6 separate regions of the Homo sapiens genome follow, and all the other regions are linked to region 5. The links are contacts of gene promoters, found by promoter capture Hi-C in blood cells and fetal thymus (Javierre and others, 2016). All regions are on one chromosome and are shown on one strand. Each heading gives the region's core, a stretch centred on a gene start or on the middle of the fragment in contact. The rest is flanking DNA. Distances are from core to core; before and after follow the strand shown. Region 1 has its middle 47 kb from the start of KCTD7. Region 2 has its middle 28 kb from the start of LINC03011. Region 3 has its middle 27 kb from the start of LINC03011. Region 4 overlaps LINC03006 (long intergenic non-protein coding RNA 3006). Region 5 holds the start of TPST1 (tyrosylprotein sulfotransferase 1). Region 6 overlaps KCTD7 (potassium channel tetramerization domain containing 7).

Evidence for each region. Contacts are between HindIII fragments. The CHiCAGO score rates a contact against its expected background, and 5 or more counts as called.
Region 1: a fragment that was not itself captured here is called in contact with the fragment with the promoter of TPST1 in region 5 in 3 of 17 cell types (endothelial precursors, M1 macrophages and M0 macrophages); the score reaches 6.3 in endothelial precursors.
Region 2: a fragment that was not itself captured here is called in contact with the fragment with the promoter of TPST1 in region 5 in 3 of 17 cell types (M0 macrophages, M1 macrophages and megakaryocytes); the score reaches 8.4 in M0 macrophages.
Region 3: a fragment that was not itself captured here is called in contact with the fragment with the promoter of TPST1 in region 5 in 4 of 17 cell types (M1 macrophages, M0 macrophages, M2 macrophages and 1 more); the score reaches 7.6 in M1 macrophages.
Region 4: a contact is called between a fragment that was not itself captured here and the fragment with the promoter of TPST1 in region 5, in 2 of 17 cell types (total CD8 T cells and erythroblasts). The highest score is 6.0, in total CD8 T cells.
Region 6: a fragment that was not itself captured here is called in contact with the fragment with the promoter of TPST1 in region 5 in 2 of 17 cell types (M1 macrophages and endothelial precursors); the score reaches 6.6 in M1 macrophages.

What each region holds. Positions count from the first base shown.
Region 1 is chr7:66,674,210-66,678,027 of GRCh38, forward strand. It overlaps a transcript of RABGEF1 not described here. Among named protein-coding and RNA genes, the nearest start is that of KCTD7, 47 kb to the left of the region's middle. The HindIII fragment of the contact is 1,508 bases long and covers 1,295-2,802 here.
Region 2 is chr7:66,519,047-66,523,278 of GRCh38, forward strand. It overlaps the pseudogene LOC100420547. Among named protein-coding and RNA genes, the nearest start is that of LINC03011, 28 kb to the left of the region's middle. The HindIII fragment of the contact is 5,661 bases long and covers 1-4,232 here.
Region 3 is chr7:66,464,986-66,468,800 of GRCh38, forward strand. No RefSeq gene overlaps it. Among named protein-coding and RNA genes, the nearest start is that of LINC03011, 27 kb to the right of the region's middle. RefSeq lists a silencer at 428-628. The HindIII fragment of the contact is 1,322 bases long and covers 838-2,159 here.
Region 4 is chr7:65,736,430-65,740,280 of GRCh38, forward strand. All of the region lies in intron 2 of LINC03006 (long intergenic non-protein coding RNA 3006), which reads right to left. Among named protein-coding and RNA genes, the nearest start is that of SNORA22, 17 kb to the right of the region's middle. The HindIII fragment of the contact is 3,989 bases long and covers 1-3,389 here.
Region 5 is chr7:66,203,810-66,207,514 of GRCh38, forward strand. TPST1 (tyrosylprotein sulfotransferase 1) reads left to right here and starts at 1,525. Exons shown (of 6, transcript NM_003596.4): 1 at 1,525-1,713. RefSeq lists silencers at 1,148-1,417, 1,568-1,927. The HindIII fragment of the contact is 8,515 bases long and covers 1-3,705 here.
Region 6 is chr7:66,640,673-66,644,318 of GRCh38, forward strand. KCTD7 (potassium channel tetramerization domain containing 7) reads left to right here. Exons shown (of 4, transcript NM_153033.5): 4 at 1-2,375. Among named protein-coding and RNA genes, the nearest start is that of KCTD7, 14 kb to the left of the region's middle. The HindIII fragment of the contact is 709 bases long and covers 1,260-1,968 here.

The DNA of each region.
Region 1 (3,818 bases), core at 799-3,298, 470 kb after region 5:
GATGGAGTCTCACACTGTCACCCAGACTGGAGTGTAGTGGTATGATCTCAGCTCACTGCAACTTCCACTTCCCAGGTTGAAGCAGTTCCCCTGCCTCAGCCTCCTGAGTAGATGGGATTACAGGCACCCACCACCACACCTGGCTGATTTTTTTTTTAAGTAGAGATGGAGTTTCACCGTTTTGGCTAGGCTGGTCTTGAACTCCTGAGCTCAGGTGATCCACCCACTTCGGCCTCCGAAAGAGCTGGGATCACAGGTGTGAGCCACTGCGCCCGTCCTAAAGGTCTTACATAGGAATGTTCATCCCAGCTTTACTCATAATAGCCCAAAACTGGAAACAACCCGAATGTCCATCAACAAGACAACAGGTATTCATGCAAGGGTATACTTACATAATAAATAATAATAAATAATAAAAACAAACTACTGGTACACACAATATGGTGGATAAATTTCAAAAACATGTTGAAGGAAAGAAGCCAAGTACAAAAGAGAACATACTATATAATTCTATTTATATAAATTTCAAGAAAAGGCAAAACTCATCTTTACTGATCTAGGAGAAGTTAGAGTGGTTGCTTCCGTAGGGATTAACTGGGAAGTGACATGAGGAACCTTAAGGAATGGAAAAGTTTCATCTTGATCTAGGTGGTGGTTGGACGGGAATATTCATACTTATAAAAATTGAACTGTACAGTTAATATGTGTATATTTGTTGACTATTTCACCTCAATTATAAAACTATATATATATATATATAAAGGGCTAGATGTCATATTTTTCCATTACACTTACATATACCTAATATTATACCTAATAATAGTAATTATAGTTGCCTACTGATAACAACTAATAACACTTATTGAAGCCCTACTCTGTGCCAGCGATTTTCTAATCACTTAATTCCCTAATACATTATGAGGTTTTATTATTTTCTCCAATTTTACAGACAGGGAAATTGAGGCATGGAGAGGTTAAGTTTATTTACCCAGTGTAACACAGCTGGCAGTCTGGTTTCGAGACCAGCCTGGCCAAGATGGTGAAACTCTGTCTCTGCTAAAAATACAAAAATTAGCCAGGCGTGGTGGCAGGAGCCTGTCATCCCAGCTATTCGGGGGGCCGAGGCAGGAGAATCGCTTGAACCTGGGAGGCGGAGGTTGCAGTGAGCCAAGATCACACCATCGCACTCCAGCCTGGGGGACAGGAGTGAGACTTTGTCTCAAAAAAAAGAAACAAACAAAAAAAACCCCAAAAAACTCCCCACAGCTAATATACTCAGTGGTGAAAGACTGGAAGCTTTTCCATTAAAATCATGAACAAGACAAGGATACCAATTTGTGCCAATTTTATTCAACATAGCATTGGAAGTTCTAGTCAGGACAATTCAGCAAGACAAATTTAAAAGATTCAGATCGGAAAGGAAGAAATAAAATTTTTCATGAACGATGTGGTCTTATGTGTAGAAAACCGTAAGGATCCAGCATAGACGAAAACTGTTAGAACTAATAAATTCAGCAATGTAATAGGATGCAAAATCAACACACACAAAAATTAGTTGCATTTTTGCACACAAACAGTGAACATCCCAAAAGGGAAATTAAGAACATTTCATGTATGACAGCATGAAAAAGTATAAAATACTTTAGGGTAAATTTAACCAAGGAGGTCAAAGACTTCTACACTGAAAACTGCAAACCATTGCTGAAAGTAATCAAAGAAGACAAATAAATGGAAAGACATGTCATGTAACTTGGGTTGTTAATTAGTTAAGTTTTAAGAGCTCTCGATATATCCTGGATAACAATCCCTTATCAAATATGTGATTTTCAGGCCAGGCATGGTGGCTCAAGCCTCTAATCCCAGCACTTTGGGAGGCCGTGGCAGACAGATCATTGAGGTCACGAGTTTGAGACCAGCCTGGCCAACATGGCAAAACCTCATCTCCACTAAAAATACAAAAATTAGCCAGGAGTGGTGGCCCGTGAATTGCTTGAACCCAGGAGGCAGAGGTTGCAGTGAGCCAAGATTGTGCCACATCACTCCAGCCTGGGTGACAGAGCGAGACTTCGTTTCAAAAAATATATATATATATACTTGATTTGCAAATAGAATCATCTGTCGGTATACACAGAGGATTTGTTCCAGGATGCCCACATATACCAAAATCCTCACATACTCAAGCATATTCAAGTCCTGCAGTCAGCCCTGCAGAACCCCTGCTTATAAAAAGTTAGCCCTCCACATATGTGGGTTTCACATTGGGCAAATAATGTATTTTCAATCCGTATTTGGTTAAATAAATCCATGTATGAGTGGACCTACGCAGTTCGGACCTGTGTTGTTCAAGGGTGAACTGTATTCTCTCTCCCCCATTCTGGGGATTGCCTTTTTATTCTGAGACAGGGTCTCATTCTGTCGCCCAGGCTGGAGTGCAGTGGTGTAATCCTAGCTCACTGCAACCTGGAACTGCTGGGCTCAAGCGATTCTGCCACCTCAGCCTCCCAAGTAGCTGGCAAGCTCCACCATGCCCAGCTAAGTTTTTAAAAAATTGTTTGCATGGAGGGGGTTCTCACTATGTTGCCCAGGCTGGTTTCAAACTCCTGGCTTCAAGCCTAGCTCCCACCTCCGCCTGTCAAAGTGCTGGGATTAGCGGCATAAGCCATCACACCTGGTCCGTGAATAGTGTCCCTTGATGCACAAAAGTTAAAAAACTACTGATGAAGTCCAACTTGTCTATTTTCTTTTATTGCCTGTCCGTTTGGTTTCATAGCCAAGAAATCATTGCCAAATCCAAAGTCATGAAGCTTTACCTCCAGGTTTTCTTCTAAGAGTTTTGTATTTTTCATGCTTACATTTAGGTTTTTGATTTATTTTTGAATTAAGTTTTGTAGATGGTGATAGGTAAGGATCTAACTTCATTCTTTTACATTAAATTTTATGTCATGTACATTTTACCACAATACAAATCTAATTTAAAAATTTAATACTCTTGTGATAAAAAGAAATCTAACAAACTAGGAATAGCATGTAACTTCCTCAACATGATAAAGGCCACGCCTGAAAAATCTACAGTTAACATCATACTCAATGGTGAAAAACTAGAAGCTTTTCCACTAAGGCCGGAAACAAAGGTAGGAGGATAACTTGAGGCCATAAGTTTGAGACCAGCTTAGACAACAAAGTGAGACCCCTATCTCTATAAAAAATAAGAAATCAGAAACAAGACAAGTACCAACCTGATGGTACTTTTCTCTGTTTATAGAAATCTACAGGCTGGGCATGGTGGCTCAAGCCTGTAATCCCAGCACTTTGGGAGGCCGAGGCGGGCGGATCACAAGGTCAGGAGATCGAGACCATCCTGGCTAACATGGTGAAACCCTGTCTCTACTAAAAATACAAAAAATTAGCTGGGCTTGGTGGCGGGTGCCTGTAGTCCCAGCTACTCGGGAGGCTGAGGCAGGAGAATGGCGTGAACCCGGGAGGGGGAGAATGCAGTGAGCTGAGATCACGCCACTGCACTCCAGCCTGGGTGACAAAGCAAGACTCCGTCTCAAAAAAAAAAAAAAAAAAAGAAATCTACAAAGGAATGCCGGGTTTGGTGGCTCAAGCACTTTGGGAGGCTGAAGCTGGTGGATTGTTTGAGTCCAGGAGTTTGAGACCAGCCTGGCAACATGGCAAAACCTTGTCTCTATGAAAAATACAAAAATTAGCCAGGCGTGGTGGCGTGCACCTGTAGTCCCAGCTACTTGGGGGGCTGAGGCAAGACATCTCTTGAACCTGGGAGGTTGAAGCTGTAGTGAGCCAAGATTGTGACACTG
Region 2 (4,232 bases), core at 333-2,832, 320 kb after region 5:
CAGGGCGCAGGAGCCTGCCTGCCCCCCTCCAGGAAGGTAGCTGACATGCCCACTCCTTATTCAGCAATCAGCTGTGGTCTTAGTGCTTTGAAATCAGAATAAGAGCCAGGCGTGGCACCTCACGCCTGTAATCCCAGCACTTGGGGAGGTCAAGGCAGGCGGCTTGCTCAAGGCCAGAAGTTCGAGACCAGCCTGGGCAACATAGAACCCATCTCTAGGTCTATTTTTAAGAAAAGAAATCAGAGGCTGAGTGCAGTGGCTCACACCTGTAATCCTAGCTCTTTGGGAGGCCGAGATGGGTGGATCACTTGAGGCCAGGAGTTCAAGACCAGCCTGGCCAACATGGCGAAACCCCGTGTCTACCAAAAAAATACAAGAATTAGTCAGGCGAGGTGGCATGCACCTGTGATCCCAGCTACTTGGGAGGCTGAGGTGGGAGAATCACTTGAACCTGGGAGGCGGAGTTTGCAGTGAGCCAGGATCGTGTCACTGCACTCCAGCATGGGCAACAGAGCAAGACCCTGTCACCCTGTCTCAAAAAAAAAGAGTGGGGGGAGAGAGAAATGGTGGTGTAGGATCCCTCCGGCACATGCGGGCACTTGTCTTGTTTGTTTGTTTGTTGAGATGGAGTTTTACTCTTGTTGCCCAGGCTGGAATGCAATGGCGCAATCTCAGCCCACTGCAACCTCTGCCTCCTGGGTTCAAGCGATTCTCCTGCCTCAGCCTCCTGAGTAGCTGGGATTACAGGTGCACGCCACCACACCCGGCTAATTTTTGTATTTTTTTTAGTATAGACGGGATTTCACCATGTTGGACAGGCTGGTCTCGAACTCTCGACCTCAGATGATCTGCCAGCCTCAGCCTCCCAAAGTGTTGGGATTACAGGCATGAGCCACTGCACCCAGCTTTTTGTTTGTTGTTGTTGTTGTTGTTGTTGTTTTTTCTGAGACAGAGTCTTGCTCTGTCATCCACGCTGGAATGCAGTGGTGTGATCTCGGCTCACTACAACCTCCACCTCCCAGGTTCAAGGGATTCTCTTGCCTCAGCCTCCCAAGTAGCTGGGATTACAGGTACACACCACCATGCCCAACTAATTTTTGTAGTTTTTTGGTAGACACGGGGTTGTAGAGATGGGGTTTCACCATGTTGGCCAGACTGGTCTCCAACTCCTTCCTTCAGGTGATCCTCCCGCCTCGGCCTCCCAAAGTGCTGGCATTACAGGTATGAGCTGCCGCGCCTGGCCACACTTGGGGGTTTTTAATGAACACTCTCTGGGTGAGGGTGGCTGGGTGGCTCATACTTGTAATCCCAGCTGAGGCAGGTGGATCATTTGAGCTCAAGGGTTCACAGCCAGCCTGGGCAACATGGCGAAGCCCTATCTCTACCAAAAACACAAAGAAGAAATTAGCCAGGCATGGTGGCACACAGCTGTGGTCCCAGCTACTCAGGAGGCTGAGGCAGGAGAATTGCTTGAGCCTGGGAGGTGGAGGTTGCATTGGGAGCTGCCAGGCGTGTCCCCTGTGTCTGTGGGGACTGCCCGTCCTCCACCATCTGCTGGATCAGCTGGGCTTCCGTTCCCTCCTTTGTCTCCAGCCCCCCAGTGACTTCATGAAGCCCATACCCCCTGCCTGCCAGCCCAGGGCACAGGACTCTGCACTCTATGGTGTCCCTCCTCTCCGGGCTTATTTATTGATTTGGTGGTTTTCAAATGTCAACAATTAACTGAATTTCCAACTCATCACTGTTGTGGCAACAGTGCATGTCCTTCTGGAAAAAACACATCTCCATCAAGACGTTGGTGCTGAAGAACCTGAGCGGCCCACTCCAAAGATCCGTTAATTGCCAGAGAAGGAGTTCCCCATAATTAGAAAATCATCTTCCTTAAAAGTCACCAAGTGCCTTTTCACTGAACAGCCCAAACCCATAATCATTTTGCGCTTTGCAGAAAATTACGACGCGAGGCTCTTACGGATTGACATTGCCAACACGCTAAGGGAGCAGGTCCAGGAGCTTTTCAATAAGACATATGGTAAGCAGCGCAGAACCCCTGGGGAGGGACATGTAGCTGCTGTGGACAGAGAAGTGGCAGGTTTCCCAGTTCCAGCCGAGGGGATTTCTGGGGAAACGATTCACCCCTTTACATGTATTTCTTGAGCATTTACTATGTGCCAGGCACTGTCTCAGGCACTGGGGATATTGCTGTGAATAAAACAGACACAGTCCCTGTACTCATGAGCCTTGCAGACCAATGAGGTGAGACACACTTTCAACAACTACACACAGAATTTAATAGACAGGGGCCCGGCTCGGTGGCTCATGCCTGTAATCCCAGCACTTTTGGAGGCTTGAGCTCAGGAGTTCAAGGCCAGCCTGGGCAACATGGTGAAACCCCATCTCTACCGAAAATACAAAAAAGAAATTAGCCAGGTGCAGTGGTGCACACCTGTGGTCCCAGCTACACAGGAGGCTAAGGCAGGAGAATCGCTTGAGCCTGGCAGGCAGAGGTTGCAGTGAGCTGAGATCGTGCCATTCCACTCCAGCCTGGGCAACAAAAGCGAAAATCTGTCTCAAAAAAAAAAAAAAAAAAAAAAAAAGGAGCATACGACATGGGAGCATATTGGTGTGGCTTTTTCTTTCTTTTCTTTTTTTTTGAGACAGGGTCTCACTCTGTCACACATGCTGGAGTACAGTGGCGTGATCATGGTTCACTACAGCCTCAAACTCCTGGGCTCAAGCAATCCTCCTGCCTCAGCCTCCTAAGTGGCTGGAACTACAGGCATGCATCACCATGTCCAGCTGTTTTTTAGAAATCTGTAGTAGAGACAGGATCTTGCTATGTTGCCCAGGCTGATCTCGAAATCTTAGACTTAAGTGATCCTCCTGCCTTGGCCTCCCAACATGCTGGGATTACGGGCATGAGCCACCATGCTGGCCTTTTTTTAATGTTCTGATCAAATAGCTTAGATTGTAATGCCTATACCTTTCCACAATGCTACATAAGAGCTTTCTCGTACCATTCACTCTCCTGCACGCATGTCTTTCCATCACACCCCCGCAATCCCATGTACACACACCCCACGCTGCCTCTCACTCCTGACGGGCAGGACCCTGCCTCTCACCCACAGGGGAAGCCTTGGGCATCAAGTACCCGGTTCAGGTCCCCTACAAGTGGATCAAGAGTAACCCCGGCTCCATGATCATCGAGGAGCTGCCACCAGGAATCCTGTTCCGAAAGCCCTTCGGCTCCCAGAACCTGGAGAGGATTCTTGCCATGGCCAACAAGATCACGTTCACAGTCACCAGGTACTCAGGGGGAAGGGTGAGGGTGAAGAGGCAGGACTAGCTCAGATGGGGGCTTACACCTGCGAATCCTTAGCCTTTCCCTAGGTCGTGCCCTCCCCACTGGACAAGGTGGCTCTCCTGGCACCATCCTGGGTCCTGGGGGTGGCCAGAAAGGGACTGCAGGCCAGCCTGAGTGCAAGGTGTCCTTCAGAAGTGGGACTGGTCACCCCACCATGGCAAGGGCAGCCTTCGAGGGCATCTTCAACCTGTTCAGCAACACCTGCTCACTGTACCCCCAGCCCCCAGGAAATGCCTTTAGCCCCCATCAGAGGGATTTGCCCAAGGTCTTGGGGCCAGCCAGGGCAGAGCCTACCCAAGGCCCAGGTCTGCATCCTGCAGAGTGGCACTGCCAATGCCAGCACCCTGCCACATGGTGTCAGTGTCCCACGCACACAGAGCCCCAGGGCAGCTTATTAAAATGCAGATTCTGCTGCCGTAGATCTGGGGTGCTCCCAGGGGAGACTGAGGCCACTGCATCCCAGGGGTGTCTTCCTCATCCCCAGGCCCTTCCCCCTGACACCCCTGCCTCTGTTTCTCTTCTAGGCCTTTCCAAGGACTCATCCGAAAGCCTGGTAAGAGGCACTGGCTGTGGAGGGGTCACTGGGAATAGGGCCAGGTCATGGTGCTGGGGGCTGGAGCTAAGCCTGCTGTGGGGCACAAGTTCTGGGGTCTGGGAACAGAAGCCAGGCCCCTGCCTTTCTTTCTTTCTTTTTTTTTTTATGAGGCAGAGTCCTTTTCTGTCACCCAGGCTGGAGTGCAGTGGTGTGATCTCAGTTCACTGCGACCTCCACCTCCTGGGTTCAAGTGATTCTCCTGCCTCAGCCTCCTGATGACAGGGAGATTACACGCAACTGCCACCATGCCTGGCTATTTTTTGTATTTTTAGTAGA
Region 3 (3,815 bases), core at 249-2,748, 260 kb after region 5:
AAGAAAAAAAATTATACATGCTCATCAACTTTACAAGGGAAAATAAACATCTATGGGATGGTTAAACAAACTGGGGCATGACCACACAAGAGAATACCGAACACTAAAAAGAACAAACTGTTAACACATGCAAAAGCCTGGATGCTCAAGAGCAAGATGCTGAGTTTTTTAAAAAGTCCATCTTAAAAGGTCACATACTCTAGGATTTATACTACCTTTCCAAATGACAAAACTACAGATATGGAGGACAAATTAGTGCTTTTTCCAGGTTAACAGTGGTGAAGGCAAGGGAGAGGAGGGGAAGGAAAATAGTATAAGCAGTTAACTCAGCAAGCTGAGTTGCTCAAATGATGCACATTCTCAGACGAGCCTGCTTCTGAGACTGGCCCTTGGTCAGCGCCTAGAAACTGAGGTCTTGTACTAGCCCTATGCCCTAAATGATAAGGGTGTTTTGTATGCTTACGGTACTGAACCACACTGTACCAGCTTCTCTAGATATTTTATGTGAACTGTATGATTTATGGTAAACACCTGCTTTCCTTCTGGAGTTGCTGTAATAGTGATCAGTCGCAAAGGAACTACATGCCTATGTGATATGGTCTGAATCTGTGTACCCACCCAAATGTCATGGTGAATCGAAATCCCCAATGTTGGAAGTGGGGCCTGTGAGAGGTGATCTGATCATGGGGCAGTTACTCATGAATGGTTTCACACCATCCCCTGTGGTTCTGTGCTTGTGAGATCTGGTTGTTTAAACGTGTGTAGCACCTTCTCTCTTGCTCCTGCTCCCACCAGGGGAGACACTTTGCTCCCCCTTTGCTTTCCACTATGATTGGAAGCTTCCTGACGCCTCCCTAGAAGCAGAAGCTGCAATGCTTCCTGTACAGCCTGTAGAACTGTGAGCTAATTAAACCTCCTTTCTTTATAAATTACTCAGTCTCAGGTATTTCTTTATAGCTATGTGAGAATGAACAAACTAATACACTATGTGACCCATCTCCAATAAAAGCCCTGGATTCTGAGGCTCATGTGAGCTTTCACAATAGAAAACACTTCACATGTGTTGCTAGAGTTTATGGCTGGGGAAGTAAGCACAAACTGGGCAACTCTACGGAGAGAAGACTCCGAATCTTCACAATGCTCGTGTCCTATAGAATCTTCTCAATGCACAACTACCCTTTATTAATCCTGCTTTGTATCCCCTCACTGTAACAAACCATAGCAAAGAATGTCCTGTGAGAGCCTTGAGCGAATTACGAAACCTGGGGGCAGCCCTGGGGACTGCTGACATAGGATGTGACTAAAAGGGCATAAGGGAGGTCTTTCGGGTAATGGAATAGTTCTGTATCTTGACTATGGTGGTGGCTACAGGAATCTATGTATGAGATAAAATGTGCATGACACTATACACATACATTGCACAAATATCAAATTCCTAGTTTCGACATTATATTATAGTTATGTAAGATGTAACCATTAAGCAAACCAGAAGAGTACACAGGACCTGTCTGTATTATCCTTACAGCTTCCTATGGATTTGACGTTATTAATTATTCCAAATTCTAAAGTTTTGTTAAAAATCACACATGAATGTTTTTTAATAAAAATAAACACCTATCATGGGACTAATGTGTATCAGTTAAACACAACACTCAGATCATTCTGCTGCTTCTAAGTATAAAAAGAGAGCAAGGGTACCACCAAAAGAGAGTGCCATCATTTGAAAGGCTATGTGGTGGTGCCGACAGCTGTTATGGTAGAAGGCAGGAGAGTCGGCACACCCAGATTGGACATCAGAGCTACAGACAGCATATCCTGTAAACACAGGAAGAAACATGGGGGATCGACTGCATGAGACTCAACTCTTTCCTGGGCAGACAGACCTGTCCCTAGACAGGTAACCACCACCAGCACTGCTTCCAGGAGGGAGCTCCAAGGGGCCACATGCCACTCCTGTTTGAGCACTGCACTCCAATAAATAGGAGCTTGATTGAGCAACCTGGGCATAAAGAATGCACGATTCAATTGGTCCCACTTATGTCAGGGAAGACAGAGTAAAAATGATCTCTGCTGCTGGGACAGTTAGGATTCTATAAATTGTGCCCCAGGGCTAGGATTTATTCTAGGTCCAGGTACCTACAAAGACCAGAGAGGTACAAAGCTTACTTACAAAGCTCACAGAACTATTAGTGTTCTTTCTTAAGACTCTGGATGCAAACCAGTTTCATCTCAGAAAAGCAAAACCAAAACACTTTACAGATGTGAGTAGTTTCCCTCTATCCTTGAGCGGGCCCTGCTTCCTATTCTTGGGTTCAATGTCATGCCCTCAGAGGTCATTCCTATCTCCAGACAACTCATCTGGGACTTACAGGAAACATCCAATCAATTCCAGCAAAATGATAAGCTATCCATTGACCTCAATTAAGAAATAAAACTTACAGGTGATTTTTTTCCCTTAAATTTGTTTTTTTTTTCTAGTTGAAGCAAAGAATACTCATTATTTACAAAACCTGATATATATAGACAAGTAGAAAAAAAAGTTTTAGTCATAGAGTCACTGTATATGGTACATATTCTTATAGTGTTCCCTTGCACTCATTCAACAAATATTTATATACTGATTGATTACTGAATGACAGGCACTTAGGACACAAATATAAGTAAAAATAAATCATTTCAGTCCTTGTGGAGCTTACCGTGTAATATAAGAAATATGACTGTATATCTGGAAGGCCTAAAGAAAATAAAACACTGTTACTGCTGAGAAATTAACTTTAAAATGGCTAACTTTCATAAAAGAATTCATATTTATGTGAAATAAGCTAAATAGGTACACGAAATCTGTGGAACTCTTGTAACAGACAAACAATAACAAGTTAGAAAGTATAAAAAGAGATATCAGTCAAAATAGCATGAATATGTAAAGACTTATAGAAAATATTTTAATGAGAAAATTATAATCCACATGGAAACACTGAGATATACTTAACGCAATGTGCGAAAATAAAATCTTATAACCATGTCAAACATTCCAAAATGTGTAAGTTTACTACAAATGGCAATAAAAATCCCACAAGACTTTCTGGAACTCAACAAAATGATTCTGTCAGCAAAAATAAACACTAAATTATTTTTTGATTTTCTAAATTAATTTTCTGAATTTTTATTTGCAAACTAGTTAGAAGACTGTGAACTCAAGAACAGACCTGTCAAACCACTACAGGACAGACTGACTCAAAAATGAATCTAATCTAATCTAATCTAATATAAGGTAATTTAATGTTAGAAGAAGGAGGGGAAGGGGAAATTTTCAATAGTGTTGTAATAACTGGTCAGCAATCTGATACCCCCTACATTAATTACAGGTATCTTTAAAAAGTTAAAAGTTTGTAGAAACAAACAGAAAATAGAAAGAACTAAAATGAAGTATTCATGAAAGTTCTAAAGAGGTGAGGGTTATCTAAGTTTACAAACTGCAGGGAAAGTCAAAATGGAAACAAAACTTAAAATACATAAACTGAAACATCTAGCTGGTTCTTGATAGGCTATCTGTAGCCAAAACATAAAAGCAAATAAGGGACTAGAAAAAAAATCTGAAGTAAACAGGACAATGAAGTATTTTATTAAATTCAGAAATAGTACTAACAAAATTTATAAACCTTTGATAGCCAAGCAGGACAAGGTTATGAGCAGATCATGACCTTGAGCAGACCGCAAAATGTGAGCAGTTTGCTAGAAACAGAAACGGAATGCCAAAGGGTATGTGCATTTAAAATTCTGACATATACCAAACTGGTCTGACAAAAAGGCTATAC
Region 4 (3,851 bases), core at 145-2,644, 470 kb before region 5:
TATTCACTGATAATGGCCTTCTAAAGTATAGTAAATTGGAACGAACACTCCGGAAAACAATATGGTGTTAGTAACACTAAACACACGCAATTTATACAACCCAGCAATTCCACCTGAGGGAGACACTCAGGAGAAACTTTCATGAGTAGGCTGGGTGTGGTGGATCATGCTTCTAATCCCACCACTTTGGGAGGCCTAGGTGGGAGGATCGCTTGAGCCCAGGATTTCAAGACCACCCTGGGCAACATATTGAGACCTAATCGCTACAAAAAATAAACAACATTAGTGGGACGTGGTGGCACACACCTCAAGTCCCAGCTACTTGGCTGAGTTGGGAGGATGGCTTGAGCCTGGAGGTTAAGGCTGCACTAAGATCACGCCACTGCACTCCAGCCTGGGTGGCAGAGTGAGACTCTGTCTAAAAAAAAAAAAAAAAAAAAAAAAAGAGGCCAGGCACGCAGTGGCTCATGCATGTAATCCCAGCACTTTGGGAGGCTGAGGCAGGCGGATCACCTGAGGCCGGGAGTTCAAGACCAGCCTGACCAACATGGAGAAACCCCGTCTCTACTAAAAATACAAAATTAGCCAGGCGTATTGATGCATGCCTGTAATCCCAGCTACTGGGGAAGCTGAGGCAGGAGAATCGCTTGAACCCGGGAGGCAGAGGTTGCGGTGACCTGGGATCACGCCATTGCACTCCAGCCTGGGCAACAAGAGTGAAACTCTGTCTCAAAAAAAAAAAAAAGAAAGTTGTATGATTGGAGGAGCCACATATATAAGAATTTTTACAGCAATACTGTGAACATTCTCAGTTACTGTGATTACTGTGATACTCCAATAGCCATTGGAAACTTTAAAAAGAGAATATCATTTAATGTCATAAATGATAACTTACAACATAAACTGCAGGAGAGTAGTTACTTCTGAAAGTAAGAAAGGAAATGAGATTGAGAAAAGGTATGTAGAGTTAATCAATGGCATTATAGTAATAATGTTCCTTTAAGTAGGATAGTAGGTGTACAGATGCTTTTTGTATCTGTGTGTATAAAATATTTGCTAACAAATTTAATATTTCATATCAATATGTTAAATAGCAATACATTGCTGCCTGGGCACGGTGGTTCACACCTGTAATCCCAGCACTTTGGGAGGCCGGGGCAGGCAGATCACGATGTCAGGAGATCGAGACCATCCTGGCCAACATGGTGAAACCCCATCTCTACTAAAATACAAAAAAGTAGCTGGGCATGGTGGTCCACACCTGTAGTCCCAGCTACTTGGGAGGCTGAGGCAGGGGAATCGCTTGAACCCAGGAGGTGGAGGTTGCAGTGAGCCGAGATCGCGCTACTGCACTCCAGCCTGGTGACGGAGAAAGATTCCATCTCAAAATAAATAAATAAACAAATAATACCAATACATTAAAATAGCATGAATGTCTTAAAAGAACACAGTTTGAAATGTGATTTAATATAAACATTAGCATTCAAAATAAGTCACACCATGGAAATATGCCCATGATATGTCACATGAATAAAGGAAGTTGCAGAACATATATATAATGTGAGCCCCCATTTTTGAACAAATAAATCTCTACGTGTGTCTATATCCAGGTATGGTATATGGTTATACATCTATGTCTATACAGCTATATAAAAGATGAAACATTCATTTATTTATTTATTTTTATGTTTTTGAGACAGTGCGTGGCTCTGTCGCCGTCCAGGCTGGAGTGCAGTGGTGCAATCTCAACTCACTGCAATCTCCACCTTCCGGGTTCAAGCGCTGGGATTATAGACATGAGCCACCACATCTGGCCTACAGCTATCTTTATAATGGAAAAAGTGGGGGAAATTTATATTACAAAGCAATATGATTATAGTATAAGAACTGCAGCAATATTTGACCGAATCTTCCCCTTCCTCCTCCTAGAAATTATGCAAAGTGATAGGGAGACATAGTGGGGGGGAATGAGGCAGAAATCCCATATTCAGCAAAACTAGAAGACAAAAAGTCACTGGAGACTCCAAGACCTGCACAAGGGCTACCAAAGTTACACGCGAAGAGGCAGATGCAGATCCTAGGAAACACAACTAAAACAGACTCTCTGAAGATGAGCCGTTCATGCCACAGTCCAAAAATGTGTTGTTTGAAACAAGCACAGCAGAGCAGGGATAAAAAGAACTGAGGGCAAGGCTCAAACAAGCAGAAAGGGAGTTGAAACCCTTGTAATCCAAGGGGTGAAGGGCATCTCTCCTGGCCTGAGCATCTTATGGGCAGAGTTAAGGTCCTAACACCCAGCTCACTCTCCTAGGGAGGGCATGGGAAAAGAATCAGCCTTCCAAGTAAATTCAATGTAGGGTGTGTCACTAACATTCTATTTTGGCCAGCACGGTAGCTCATGCCTATAATCCAACCACTTTGGGAGGCTAAGGCAAGAGGATTGCTTGAGCCTAGGAATTTGAGACGAGCCTGGTCATCATAACAAGAATCTTTTTTTTTTTTTTTGAGATAGAGTCTTACTCTGTGGCCCAGACTGGAGCGCAGTGGCACGATCTCGGCTTACTGCAACCTCAGCCTCCCAGGTTCAAGCAATTTTCCTGCCTCAGCCTCCTGAGTAGCTGGGATTACAGGTGCACACCACCAAGCCCAGCTAATTTTTGTATTTGTAGTAGAGACGGGGTTTCATCATGCTGGTCAGGCTGGTCTTGAACTCCTGACTTCATCATCTGCCCATCTTGGCCTCCCAAAGTGCTGGTATTACAGGCGTGAGCCACTGTGCCTGGCCCTAAGACTCTATCACTTGAGAGAGAGAGAGAGAGAGAGAGAGAGAGAGAGAGAGAGAGAGACAGCCAGTCGCGCCTGTAATCCCAGCACTTTGGGAGGCCAAGGCAGGTGGATTGCTTGAGTCCAGGAATTTGAGACCAGCCTGGGTGGCATAGCAAAACCCCATCTCTGCAAAAAAATACCAAAAAAGGCTAGACATGCTGGCTCACGACTGTAATCCCAGCTACTCGGGAGGCTGAGGCACAAGAATCCCTTGAACCCTGGAGGTGGAGGTTGCAGTGAGCTGAGATCGTGCCACTGCACTTCAGCCTGGGCAACAGAGAGACTGTCTCAAAAAAAAAAAAAAGGTAGATGAAGAGCTCACCAGAAACACAGGGGCTGTGTGCCCTATGTGCAGTGATTGGTGGTGATGCTAGGGAGTACTGGACTGGGAGGCGAAGCCCTACAGGGCCAGTTTAGAACAGTGCAAAGAAAAAATAACAAAAATAAAACAAAACAAAAAATAGTACACAGCAAAGGAGGCAGAACTACACAAAAACTACCAAGAGCCACATTGAATGACACAGTCTGACTGTGGCAGCTGAAAACCTTCGTTTGCATTGAGAAGCTTGTAAAACTACCCTGGTCCCTCTTGTCTTTCCTTCAGAGAAGACCCTTGCAAATGATCGGTCCAGGAAAATACAACTCATTCTATAATGAATTAAAGAAAAAAGGAAGGGACACCTTTGCTATGGGCTGAATGAACTGTGTTCCCCCAAAGTCCATATCTTGAAGTCTTAACCCCCAATACCTCAGAATGTGACTATATTTGGAGACAAGGTTTTTGTTTGTTTGTTTGTTTGTTTGAGACCAAGTCTCACTCTGTTGCCAGGATGGAGTGCAGTGGTGTGATCTCAGCTCATTGCAACCTCCACCTCCTGGGTTCAAGCGATTCTCCTGCCTCAGCCTCCTGAGTAGCTGGGACTACAGGCGCCCGCCGCCATGTCCAGCTAATTTTTGTATTTTTAGTAGAGACGGGTTTTCACCATGTTGGCCAGGATGGTCTTGATCTCTTGACCTCATGATCT
Region 5 (3,705 bases), core at 275-2,774:
TTCATAGCAGCATCATGTATAATAGCCAAAAAAGTAGAAACAGATGTCCATCAATGGATTAATGGATAAATAAAAGATGATGTCCAGCCAGGCACGGTGGCCCATGCCTGTAATCCCAGCACTTTGGGAGGCCAAGGCAGGCAGATCACTTGAGGCCAGGAGTTCAAGATCAGCCTGGGCAACTTGATGAAACCCCGTCTCTACTAAAAATATAAAAATTAGCCAGGCATGGTGGCACATGCATGTAATTCTAGCTACTTTGGAGGCGGAGGCATGAGAATCACTTGAGCCCAGGAGGTGGAGGTTGCAGTGAGCCAAGATCACATAACTCCACTCCAGCCTGGGAGACAGAGTGAGACTCTTCAAAAAAAAAAAAGGTGATGTCTGTATAATGGACTATTATTCGGCCGTAACAAGGAATGAAGTGCCGATACATGCTACAACATGGATGAACTTTGAAAATATTATACTGTGTGCAAAGGAAGGTAGTTACCTTCCCGGGTTCAAGCAATTCTCCTGCCACAGCCTCCCCAGTAGCTGGGACGACAGGCGTCCGCCACCATGCCCGGCTAATTTTTGTATTTTTAGCAGGGACGGGGTTTCACTATGTTGGCCAGGCTGGTCTCGAACTCCTGACCTCAGGTGATTCACCAGCTTTGGCTTCCCAAAGTGCTGTGATTAGAGGCATGAGCCACCCCACCTGGCCTAGCAGAGAGCAATTTTGAATACAGCTGTTAGATTCTGCACTCATGCCTTCTCTAATCCATGTCACTGGAGTAGAAATAATTGCTTTGACAGAACCTGGTGTAGATGTGTCTGTAGGAAGAAACTGTAAAATGAATGGATCATTTTGTGAAATATCTGCCCTTTCCCCACCTTTCTTTTGCTTCTTTGCCTTTTTCTCCCTAGTTTTCATTTCTTTCTTTTAGGGCGTCAGCCCCCCACCTCTGTGGTTGGGAGGGACTATTGCACGTCTACACTCTCGTGGGGATGAAATAGTGTTTGAGTTCGTTATTTGCATTTGCGCGTTATCTCCCCGAGGAGATGACAGCTTCTCTGCCAGCAGCGGGCAAAGGTGGGCTCTGAAGCAGAGGAGAGGAATTATCAGGAAAAGCTCATTTTCTTCTCCTGTCCTAGGGTTTCACTGATGAAGGCCTCTGGGACACCCACGTTGGGGGTGGGGGCGGTGAGGACCGCCACCTGCCCGCGGCTCCCCTGCAGCCAGGCCACGCGCGCTGTTGCTAGGGCAACCACCCGGCCAGGCCTGCGGCTGCCGGGAAGCCCCCTCGGGAGCGCGCACGGGAAGGGCTGTGGGGGCGCTGGCCGGCTGCGACGTCAGACCCCCGCCCCTCGGCGCCTGCCGGACCCAGCTCCATTCCCAGCCGCGCCTCCTTCGGTGGGCAGCCGGCCGGAACTCACGAATCAGAGCAGCCGACACATCGTCCGCTCAGCCAATCGTAGCAGATGTGTGATCCCGCCACCTCCCCGGACCCTGGCGGTTGTCGCTGAGTTGGCGACCGCGGGAGACGCTGCTGAGGCGGCTTCGGTTGCGGGTCGGAACGGCGCTGCTCTGCGGGGCCGGTCCAGGCTGGCAGCTGCCGGCGCTTGGCGGTGAGGGCGGGCTCCCGAGTGGCCCCCCACCGAAGGCGGTGGGACCAGCGGCTGAGGCCAGGATGCCGTCCAGGCGGCGCGGCGGCTCCTCACTCATCCCAGGTAAGGGGGACGCGGCGCTCGCTGCGGCTCCGCTCCCCTCTCGTCTCCTCACACCCGGCCCTGTGCCCCGTCCTGGCATCCCTTGGCCCCTTGTCGCCTTCTGCTCGGTGCCTCCCGGTTGTCCAACCCCGCCCCCGAGCGCGGAGCCCCGGGTCTGGCCCGTCCGGCCCCTGCTCCCACGCCCCTTCCCCCATCGCCGGCATTTCCCGGGCTCGGCTTCGCCCCGGCCGCCGGGGCCTCTCCCCTCTGCCCTTTCTCTCCCTTCTCGCAGCCCTGGGACCACGTCCTAGCCCCGCAGTCCCCTGGGATGAGACCCTCGTCTCGCCGGGATCGGACATTTGCCCCCACGTCTACCCCGGCTGCGCTTCTTGAGCTCATCGCCCCATCATCCTACCCGTTGTACGTAGTCCTGTCTGCATGGCAGTCGCCCGCCCCGCTCCAGGTGTCCCTGGGTCTTGCCCTTTTGCTCCTAAGCACCTTCCTTTCCCAACTCGCCTCTTCTCCCCTCACTTTGACCACCCACCATCGCAATCTCCTCTTCCTTCTCTTACTCTTAAACCTCCAGACACTTTCCCACTCTCTGCAATGCCGGATTCATCGCTTTTTTTTTTTTTTTTTTTGAGAGATGGAGTCTCTATGTTGCCCAGGCTGGCTTCGAACTCCTGACCTCAAGCTATCCTTCTGCCTCGGCCTCCAAAGTGCTGGGATTACAGGCGTGAGCCACTGCGCCTGGCTCAGATCCATAGTGTAATATCTTCATTCGTCCTTACATGAGCTGCACCCCATAACATGTAAAGTCCCTTGCCCAGAGTCTAGCACACAGTAGGCCTGGCACATGGTGGGTGGTCACGCATGTTAGCCTCTTCCTCCTTCCAGGCGTTTTGTACTTTCCAGATGATGGTAGCAAGAAGTCCAGTGTCCACAGGGATTTGACTCTGCCTGAAGAATGGTATGGGAGATGGCAGGAGAAATTGGTGAACTCCAGTAAAGCGATTAAATGGTCAATTACTGCATTCATTAAGAAGAAACAATTCTGCTATCCGTGCCATGTATTGTTTTATGTTAATTGCCTTTGTAAAGGATTCTTAGGCTGCTAGTCAGCAGGCTTTGCGGTGTAATTACTCCCCATCCCCTCTCCATCCCCATCTGCAGTGTTTGGGTAACTTTCTTTTTAGGAAAGAAAGAGCCCCTACCTCCCAGCTAAAGTGGCATAGTATATAAGCAATGTGGTACGTGTTTATCTATTAGCTGGATAGTCCAGGGAGCTGCAATGAATTTTCATCTTTTAAGATCCAGGAGGAATCAGGATTTGGATTTCCTGGAATCAGCTGCTGTACAGACCAAATATGCTTAAGAATGAAACTTCTGACAAGTCCTCTAAGAGTGAGAGAGGAATTATCCACCCCTCTCCCTCCCCCTCTCCAAACACTCGCTCTTGGAGGAAATAGCGAGTCGATTTTTAAAAAAGAGTAAAATACGTTTGACTTTTTAAAATGATAAAAGCATTGTCATTGGCCCTGTACTATTCTTGCCACCTTTGCTCTGATGGTCTCAAGCCTGGACGAATCAGTCAGCTTTTTCTGCTCCTGGGCTCCCAAGGCAGACTGGCAAAAATCATATAACTAAACTGCTGGGTGCTGTTTCTGCACTTCTGGATCCTGGAGATCCTTTGACTTAACCTCTAGATTCCTCTTATGTCCTAAAATCTAAATGGCTGTTTATGGATCTTTACCATTTTTCTCTGACTCTTTGTCCTACTCTTGCCTTCTCTTCATTGCTTATTTTGCCACTTAACTTCACAGAATAAATTGGTGGGCATCAGCCCTGAACTCTTAAGGAGAGGTCATTTTTGTCTGTGCCTGTCTGTACCTGATTTCTAATATCCTTTCCTCTGATCTCAGAAGAAGAGGGGTCTTACTTTCGAAAGCTAACGTCTTTGATCTCTTCCCATATTATTATTTTTTCTGTTGGATGGTATACATCCTCAGGTTT
Region 6 (3,646 bases), core at 364-2,863, 440 kb after region 5:
ACGCCTGTAGTCCAGGCCACTCGAGCACACACCTGTAGTACCAGCTACTCTGGAGGCTGAGGCAGGAGGATCACTTGAGCCCAGGAGATTAAGACTGTAGTATACTATGATCGTGCCTGTGGCTAGCCACTGTGCTCCAGCCTGGGCAACACCATCGTAAAAATAAATAAATAAATAAATAAATTGGGGAGGACAGCCTCACTGGTATCAGACTTACAGGACCAGATAGACAAGATGGGTATAAGGGGAGCTGAAGTCTGTGTTCATATGAGGAAGAGAAGACCAAGCCCTGGGACTTTGGCTGAATTCCTCCGTGGGGCTGGACGGCAGTGATCTCCTGTTCCCTATGTGTAAACAAAGATTCCAGGGCGTGGTTTTGCACTCCTGTTGTACTCTTTTAGAGGTGGAAAAGAGGTGGATACTGAGATCTAAGAGGAAAGGATAGTCATTCACGTTCTGAGATATGCGCTCTCTCTATTGTTCTCGTACACAAAGGGATAGTCTCTTTTCTGGAGCTGATGTCCCTGCTTGGAGGTTAGCCCCAAAACATGGCTCTTGTATTGTTCTAAGAGAAAAGGCTTTCATTTTGGTTCTTCTGATTGGTGTTACCTACTGCCTAATATGTGTTCATTTTTTGACAGAGAGGCAGACTATTGAAAAAGTCTGTGTGAACAGAGAGCAGTTCATTAAGCCCATTGCTTTCAGTAATGTGGCCTTGACCCCTTCTGCTTCCCCCTTCTCCCATGGAGCATGGCAGGGCTTGGTTATTTAGAGTCCATACATGCAAGCCATTGAGAGACTTGTTTGCTCAAATGCAAGTTTGCTCAAAAACAGGTCCTGAAGGCTTGCTTAGGATTACAGGGATGCTGGGTAAGAACACCGTTCCTCTCTCTCGCTGGAGAAATCCCTGTTTCTCTGACTCCCTTTGTGATCCTCACAGTAATGTATTCTGTGCCACTGTAGGACACAAGGCTCTGGGCCAGTAGAACAGGCAGAGAGGTGACACTGGGCAGCAAGCTGAGAGCTCTTTCTAAATGGAGTGAAGGAATTCAGTGGCCTAGTTTCGCCATTCTCTAATGAGAAACCAAGGCCAGGCTGAAAAGTGCAATTAGATGTGGTGGATTGTGGTAACGGCCTCCAGATAAAGGGGTTATCCCTGTGGAAGTGACTTTTCCCCATTTGATCCCTTTTCAACTCTAAATGGCCAGGCCCAGAACAGAAGAAGGGTTGGGTCTGGAAGGAAGGCTCCAAAGGATGAAAGCTTCTCCCTGATCATAAGGAAGTGCATCTTTATAGAATTGTTGTGCATAATGTCAGTAAATCCCTCTCACTTGACAAGGGACTGGATTCATCTTGCCTTGAGACGGGCCAGTAGTTATCAGTGAGTCAAAGCAAAGTGAAAGTTTCAGGAGATGGGACCAATGGTGCAATGCTCGCCATAACAAAATTCCTTAAAAATAAAAAAGCTAATGTTATAGCAACAAAAAAAGACTGAAGCAAAACCACACTGAAATGCATCCCACTCCAGGAGAGGAATTCTTAGCGTAACACTCTAAATAAATGGAAGGAATCATCACCTTCCTTATTTTACCTCTGCCTTGTTCACCAGGCTGCCCAGTGCTTACCATGCAGAAAGCAGTCAGCTGTACTCTGGAAGTTTCTGTTCTTCTTTCCTGGGGCTTAGGATATTCTGGGAGCTGTCTGAGCCTTGTGCCTAAGGCTTATCAGGTGATATAATCTTCCTGTTCTGGGCTGCTTGCTGGAGGAATAGGAAGTGACATTTATAAGACACAGGCGGTGTGAGCATCCATGTGTGGTCTTGGTCTAAACCAGCTCTTGAACAGGTTAAAGCAAACAGCAATAACAAAACAAAAACTACTGATGCTGAGCGTTTTGATCCTAGTAATATTTCAAATATTGTCCTTCTGCATATGTTCTATCCATATTTGATTCCAATATACATTATTAAGCTTTCTTGGGTACTATTTTGCTGGGGCTCTTGCGTGAAGGTGGTACCTGTCTCATGATCCTTAAAAGAGAGAGGCTTTTTTCATCCAAAGCTGTAGTGTTGGGAACTGGGGTGGGAGAGGCACTTTTTGGAATTCTGAAAGAATCATATCTGTGTATATACATACTGAGTGGGGAAGGATGGGGGTTGGCAGGGGTTGAGGGAGGTGGGAACAAACAGTGAGTATGGGAACAGGCAGTCACCTCGAGTGTGGGAGGTCACCTGGGTCCGTCGTCTTCCTTCTGTATGGTGTTGGGTTTATGTACACACTATAACACTTCCTGTGTGAGTTCATGTACCTGTCTGTGAGTGCTTTGGTGTATTGAGCCTCAGTACACTCCAAGGGCATTAAAGTCAAGAACTAGAACCTGGGTGCTGTGCCTTTCTTTTTTAGAGATGTGCTCTCATCTCTTCTCTGACCCCCACTTTGCCAGCAAATATTTTTTATTTCTGCTTAAAATGTGGTGTGTTTGGGGATGCCCCACACAACAAGACAGGCTTTTCCCTGAGACCAGCAGCTGAATTTCTGCCCTGAAAGGGAGGTGGGCCTCTTGAGGACCCTTCTAGAGTTACTCTAGACTTGTCCCTGTTTCATGTAGGCATGTGCCCACCCCAGCCTAGGCAAAATCTCTGTCCTCTTCTTTTGGGAGTTCTCCAAGGAAAGAAGAGACTGCAGGTGCAGTCACGTGTGTGGCTCACAACCATGTCAGGTAGTTCTAAAATAAATTCCTCCTGTCATATTACCACTTCCTTTTCAATGGGGGAAATAAGTAGCTCTAAATTTATGTAAGCCTCAGTGGTTAAGACCCTTCCTTAAGAAAAATGGACGTAAGTTGCCCTTCCTTTGAAAGCAGAGCTTGACACCTTCCTGGCTAATGAGTGTCCTCATCAAGATGCCCCCTGGAGTCACATCATGGATTAACGCAGAAAGGTGAGTTCTGAGGCTCTGAGTAGCTTCATACCCTCCAACTGCTTCCCTTAAACCTCTGATTATTCTGGCTTTTAAACAAAAGCACTGTATCATCTGTGCCAAATGTATTCCCTGACTAATTACTGAGTACAGTCACATAGTTATAGTACACTAATAATACAGGCTGGAAACTGAAGCTCATAGAAGTATGTAGTTTCCCCAAGAGTGCAGAGCTAGTAAGTGGAAGAGTCAGGATTCAAACCCAGAGCCCCTTTCTGAAATCCTCAGAGGTGTTCAACAGCATGATCCTCCCTTCCTCTTGACAGCTCGTATCCTCCTCCTGAGGTTTAGGGCTTCACTCTACCTGACCTGTGAAGATTTGAAAGCACATATCTAGGACAAGTATTAGAAAGTCTTCATACTTCAGGAAAGGATTTTAGGAAAAAAGGAAAAAAAAAATCTCCCATAGATGTTGTATTAGTCCATTTTCACACTGCTGTAAAGAACTACCTGAGACCGGTTAATTTATAAAGAAAAGAGGTTTAATTGACCCACAGTTCACATCCCTGGGAGGCCTCAGGAAACTTATAATCATGGCAGAAGGCGAAGTTCAGAAGCAAGGCACATCTTATATGGAGGCAGGAGAGAGAGAGAATGGGGAGGCCAGGCATGGTGGCTCATGCCTGTATAATCCCAGCACTTTGGGAGGCCGAGGCAGGCAGATCACG